Regions from separate parts of the Homo sapiens genome. Here region 1 is linked to region 2. The links are contacts of gene promoters, found by promoter capture Hi-C in blood cells and fetal thymus (Javierre and others, 2016). All regions are on one chromosome and are shown on one strand. Each heading gives the region's core, a stretch centred on a gene start or on the middle of the fragment in contact. The rest is flanking DNA. Distances are from core to core; before and after follow the strand shown. Region 1 has its middle 49 kb from the start of PLEKHG3. Region 2 holds the start of SPTB (spectrin beta, erythrocytic).

Region 1 (2,829 bases), core at 310-2,809, 220 kb after region 2:
CCTCTTGCCTTTCTGGCTGTCTCTGCCTCTTTCATAAATCCAAAGCCTCCTGGAGTCTTCCCAAACTCGCCCAACTGCTGACACACAGATGCAAACACGTGCAATTCAGCCCTTCATGATTTCCAGTCAGATTTCGTTATTAAGCAACTATTTCCTTGCTCATTTTCTCACCTTTCTCTTTCACATTACAGAGAGCCAATTTACACACACACACAAAAGCTTTCGACAGAAGCACAAAAAACAGCCTACTTAAATGTTTTATTGTGGTAACATACATAATATTTATCATTTTAACCTTCACAATTCAATGGCATTAAATACATTCACAATGTTGTATAACCATCACCACTATGTATACCAAAACCTTTTTCATTATTTTTAACAAAAATTCTGTACCCATTAAATAATAACTTCTCTTTTGGCCCTTCCTCCAGCCCATGGTAACCTCTATTCTATTTTTTTTTCTACAAGCAGACGCCACTACGTCTGCCTAATTTTTTGTATTTTTGTAGAGACAGGGTTTCGCCATGTTGCCCAGGCTGGTCTCAAATTCCTGGGCTCAAGCCATCTGCCTGCCTCGGTCTCCCAAGGTGCTGGGATTACAGGGATGAGCCACCACGTCCCACTTTCTATCTTCTTTTCTTTTCTTTTCCTTTTTTCTTTTCTTTTCTTTTTTTTTTTGAGACGGGATTTTGTTCTTGTTGCCCATGCTGGAGTGCAATGGCACGATCTCAGCTCACTACAACCTCCACCTCCTGGGTTCAAGCAATTCTCCTGCCTCAGCCTCCCAAGTAGCTGTGATTACAGGCACGTGCCACCATGCACAGCTAATTTTTTGTATTTTTTGTAGAGATAGGGTTTCACCATATTGGCCAGGCTGGTCTGGAACTCCTGACCTCAAGTTATCCACCTGCCTCGGCCTCCCAAAGTGTTGGGATTACAGGTGTAAGCCACAGCACCCGGCCTTCTATCTTATTTTCTGCCTTACGAATTGGCCTATTCTGGGTACCTGATATAAGTGGGAATCATATAATATTTGTTTTTCTTTGTCTGGATTATTTCACTAAGCATAATGTTTTCAATGTCTATCAATATTTTAGCATATATCAATATTGCATTTCTTTTTTATGGCTGAATACTATTTCATTGTATGAATATAGCACATTTTGTTTATTCATCTGTTGAGGGACATTTGGGTGGTTTCTGCCTTTTGGCTATTGTGAATAATGCTGCTATGAACATTGTGTACAAATATCTGTTCAGGTCCCTGCTTTCAGTTCTCTTGGGTATATACCAAGAAGTGGGATTGCCAGGTCATACAATAGTTCTATGATTAGCCTACAAAAACAACTCACTTTGGAGGATTAAAAAAAAGAATAGCTTTATACTCTCACTTTATTTCATATCTTATGAAATCTTTTTGAGGTGCTTAGAAAAATACACACCATAAAAAGAGATAAAGAGTTAAAGGGGCCGGGCGCGGTGGCTCAAGCCCGTAATCCCATCACTTTGGGAGGCCGAGGCGAGCAGATCACGACGTCAGGAGATCAAGACCATCCTGGCTAACACGGTGAAACCCCGTCTCTACTAAAAATACAAAAAATTAGCCGGGCGTGGTGGCGGGCGCCTGTAGTCCCAGCTACTCAGGAAGCTGAGGCAGGAGAATGGTGTGAACCTGGGAGGCGGAGCTTGCAGTGAGCCGAGATCATGCCACTGCACTCCAGCCTGGGCAACAGAGCAAGACTCTATCTCAAAAAAAAGAAAAAAAAAAAGTTAAAGGAATTGGGGCAAAGGGAAAATAAGGGTAAGAGCTTCCCAGTTAGTGCTTGGGCAGGGCAGATCAGCTCCATCAGAAAACAAGCGCTTGGGGCACACTGCTAGCACTTTCAAAAGGCAGCTTCCAATGCAGATGATTCCAATTCTACACCTTGGCCAAGCTGCCTCTCCAAATGGAGCAGGGCACGTGGGCTTCACTGTATACGCAGACCACGTGGAAGCTGACACCATAACCTTACCCACCGCAGGCTTCTCATGCACTCACAAACCTTCAGCTGGGCCGGTCCTTAGAATTATCTAGGGCAACCCTCTTGATTTCCAGATGACGAAAGTAAGGCTCAAAGAGGTTAAGTGTCCTGCGGAGACACACAGAGCATGTAAGTAGCAGAGCTGATTCACACCCATGTGTCCCACCGACAGCCTAGTTTCTCCGGGTTACCACACCGCCTCTCATTGCCGTAAGTCAGCTTCCCTTTACTTATTTGGGAAACGTATGGGCTGTATGAAATCATTATGTTCTCATTCTTTTTAAACTGTTCCAGTAGTTATGCAGTTTCAAGGTTCTGAAGGCTAAAAGTACTATTATGTGGTATTAAACAAGGTAGACATTAACTGTGACACGGGAGGGATGTCACAAATCCCATTGCTGAAGCTGAAGCTGTGTTACTTATTTTAGAAAACTTTCCATTAGTTGACTTCCCAAATAGAAGTGTTGCTTCCTGGTTTCCCTTGGTGATTTTTTAAATTGTGCTTAAACATGAGTGTCCAGTTGAGACTACATGCAATTCCAGCATAACCAGGCTTGGTAATGACCAGAGCTATTAACCTGTGATGGACCTTGTATCAGCCAAATATTTACCTAGCTCATGCTCACAACAGGTTGGTGGGACAGATCCAACGGCTCCTACTTCAGCTGGGTTTCCGTTTGGATCTTAATGTGAACACAGCTGCTTGGTTTTATTTATGTACATAGATTTTTCTGACATATTTCATCCTTTCCTAAACCAACTACCCTCGGAGACATTGCAACTTGCTCTCTTGCCTCCATGAGTC
Region 2 (2,700 bases), core at 22-2,521:
CCCTTTCCTGGGTGAATTCTGGAAAACAGCACAATTATAATCCCAAGCAAATAACTCAGGAGTAAGACTGTTCCCTTGTTAAGAACACCAGGCAGCATCAGTAAAAGTTAAAACTTCTTCTGCATCTATGCGCTTTTAATCTCCACGGCCATTTCCATAATACCTGAGATTACCTGCGTTGATAGCTGGTGAGAAATCATCCCAGGCACCGCAGGTGGAGAAAAGAGATGAAAGCTACCTCAAGGCGTACACGTAAACCTTACTGAACAATGACCTTGATCGTTAGAAAGTCAAGAAAATGTACTGCCTTGCAAGCTGCCGGTGTTCTATTGAGTTTCTCTCCGGGGGCAACTCGGAGATGCCTTTTTGGCACCATCGGTTCTAGTATTTCCTCTGGCCTGCTGCGCCGCGCCTCATCCAGGCTTGTAGTGAGGCACCCCCACTCGCCCGGAGACCCGGGCCGGCCAGGAGGTGCCAGTGGGCAGGTGTGGCAGCCTGCCTGTTGATTACAGTCCCTACAATGTGCGAGCTCCTTGGGACTGCAGGCTGCGCGCCGCCAGCTTTGCCTGGTTCGTCCTGATTACACTAGGTTTTCGGGCAGAAACAGCGACACTGAGCTCGGGCTGGGGGTGGGGCCCTCGGGCCCAGTGCCCGCCCCCTGCCCTCCCACCGCCAGCCGAGAGAAGCCCGCCCGGGAGCGCGCTTTCTAATGCACCAGCCCCCGGGAACAATCTGTCCCTCCCAAACCCGCCACGGCGGGGGTTCACCTCCCGGGTACCCGCCGCGCCCACCCTATGGCCTAAATGTCTTTTCATATATTTTAAAAACTGAACTGTGTGCAGTGGGGATGCAGGGCGGGAAAGGCTGGAGGGCTCATTTTCGCCACCAGGCTTGCCTCTCCGGGCGCACGAATTAGGCCCGAGCTAGAGTCCAACCCCCTTCCCGCCTCAGGGGGCTCGGGGTGGCGCGGGGTTAGGGGCAATGAACGACGATGGAGGCGCCCCAGGCTCAGCGGCGGGCGGGGAGGCAGAGGCGGGTTCCAGGAGCCGGGCTGAGGCCCGGCAGGTGCCCCCAGGCGCGGAGGCTGATTGGCAGGTGCGTGAGTGGGTGGGGAAGGCGGGGGCTGGGCTTGGCGCTGCGGGAGGCTGCGGCCCCGCCTCCCCGCCCCCGCCGCGGGACTATCTGGTCCCGGCAGCAGCGATGTCCCCCGGCAGGAATGTCCCTCCTCAGATAATGTTATTTATATCTCTGGGCGGGTCCGCGGCTCGGCAGCACCAGGCGCCCGGCGGCCGCTGTGCCAGGAGCCCCGCGCTGCCCTCCTCCCCCTGCGCCGCCGCCGCCGCCACCCCCGGGCTCGGGGTGGCCCCCGCTTCAGTCCCAGGGCAGGTGAGTCCCAGGAGGGCCCGGCGGCCAAGGGAGCTGGGTGCGGGTGCGCAAGGCTGGGACGCGCGGCGCCAGCTCAAAGGAGCGCTGGGCCCAGGGGGCGCCTGACGCGCAGGGCCCAGAGGACCGGGTGGGAGTCCAGCCCCGGTTGTCGGGCGTGGGGTGGGAGGGGTGCGGGGCCCGGGAAGCCCGGCAGCTGCGGCAAAGATCATCCCGGGACGCGGGAACGCGCGCGGGCGTCCGAGGCACTTGGTGCTAGCTTTGGAGAGCGGGATCCCGGAGAGTCCGTCACCCCGGGGCGCAGGGAGAGGGTGACGGGGGTGCGTGTTCTCGTCCGCCTTCTCCAGGACCCCGGCCTGGGAGCGAAGGGGATTGCGCCTCTAGCCCGTCCGACCGCAGCGCTGCTCTCTGCCTTTTTTTGTCCGGCTTCTCAGCCTTGTGGCCGCTCATATCCCTCTTCTGGGGAACTTGGCTGCGCTCTCCTCGGGCCACCCAGCGCCCAGGCAGGAGGGACAGGTGAGGGCAGCAGAGGGGGCCGGGCCTCCGGGTGCTGGGAGCCACCCAGAGAGTGACCCCGTGTAGACCGAGGGAGGAAAGATCCTAGTGCCCCAAGCCATACTTCAAGGACCCCTAGTCTTCCTCTCCCAAAGAGTTCCTCTCTTCCTCTAAGCTTCTCCGGGCTACTCTACCCTCACCCTCCTCTCCAGTTTCCCCTCTTCCTCTAACTTGGTCTTGAGAAATAGCAGAAAGTGGGAGAAATAACAGAAGCTGTAAAACAATCCCCAACTCCCACCAACTCATCCGTACTTCCCAGGCTGGGGAAGCAGCTGCGGGGCTGGAGTGCTGTTTCCCTGACAACGAGCTTCAGGTAGGGCCTTGAGTTACAGCCTATTAATATCCAAACCACTGTTTTCAGTGAGCAATTAGAGGCGCCAGCCAGGAGTAAGGAAAATGAAAAGAAGCCACTGTTTTTTGTACATCTAAATTTTAGATGCATCAGATTGGGGGGTGGGGTGGGGGGATATAGTGACAGCCTTTTTGTACTGAGAATTTCTGTGGGGAGAGACTAGGCTGTCACCTCCAGGTAGGAGGCAGTCATGCAAAACCCCTGCCTGGAGGTAGTCACGATCCGTATTTTAGTTTCTAAGGGAAGAGATTCAGGCGGCTCCCTAATGAGAGGAGTCTGCAAATCAAAGATTTTTAGGCACAGCTCAACTGTCCACTGTCCTATCCTTAGCTTCACAGATGGCTCTGAATTTTATTCTAGAATTCCCTCTTCGCCCACCCCTTCCCCCACTATAACCCAAGGCAGGTCAT

Evidence for each region. Contacts are between HindIII fragments. The CHiCAGO score rates a contact against its expected background, and 5 or more counts as called.
Region 1: a contact is called between a fragment that was not itself captured here and the fragment with the promoter of SPTB in region 2, in 2 of 17 cell types (M0 macrophages and M2 macrophages). The highest score is 5.8, in M0 macrophages.

The regions. Positions count from the first base shown.
Region 1 is chr14:64,654,453-64,657,281 of GRCh38, reverse strand. No RefSeq gene overlaps it. Among named protein-coding and RNA genes, the nearest start is that of PLEKHG3, 49 kb to the left of the region's middle. The HindIII fragment of the contact is 2,675 bases long and covers 222-2,829 here.
Region 2 is chr14:64,878,478-64,881,177 of GRCh38, reverse strand. It overlaps SPTB (spectrin beta, erythrocytic), which reads left to right and starts at 1,271. Exons shown (of 36, transcript NM_001355436.2): 1 at 1,271-1,386. It overlaps LOC105370534 (a long non-coding RNA gene), which reads left to right. Exons shown (of 3, transcript XR_943942.3): 3 at 1-297. RefSeq lists silencers at 651-730, 801-940, 991-1,160. The HindIII fragment of the contact is 2,561 bases long and covers 1-2,055 here.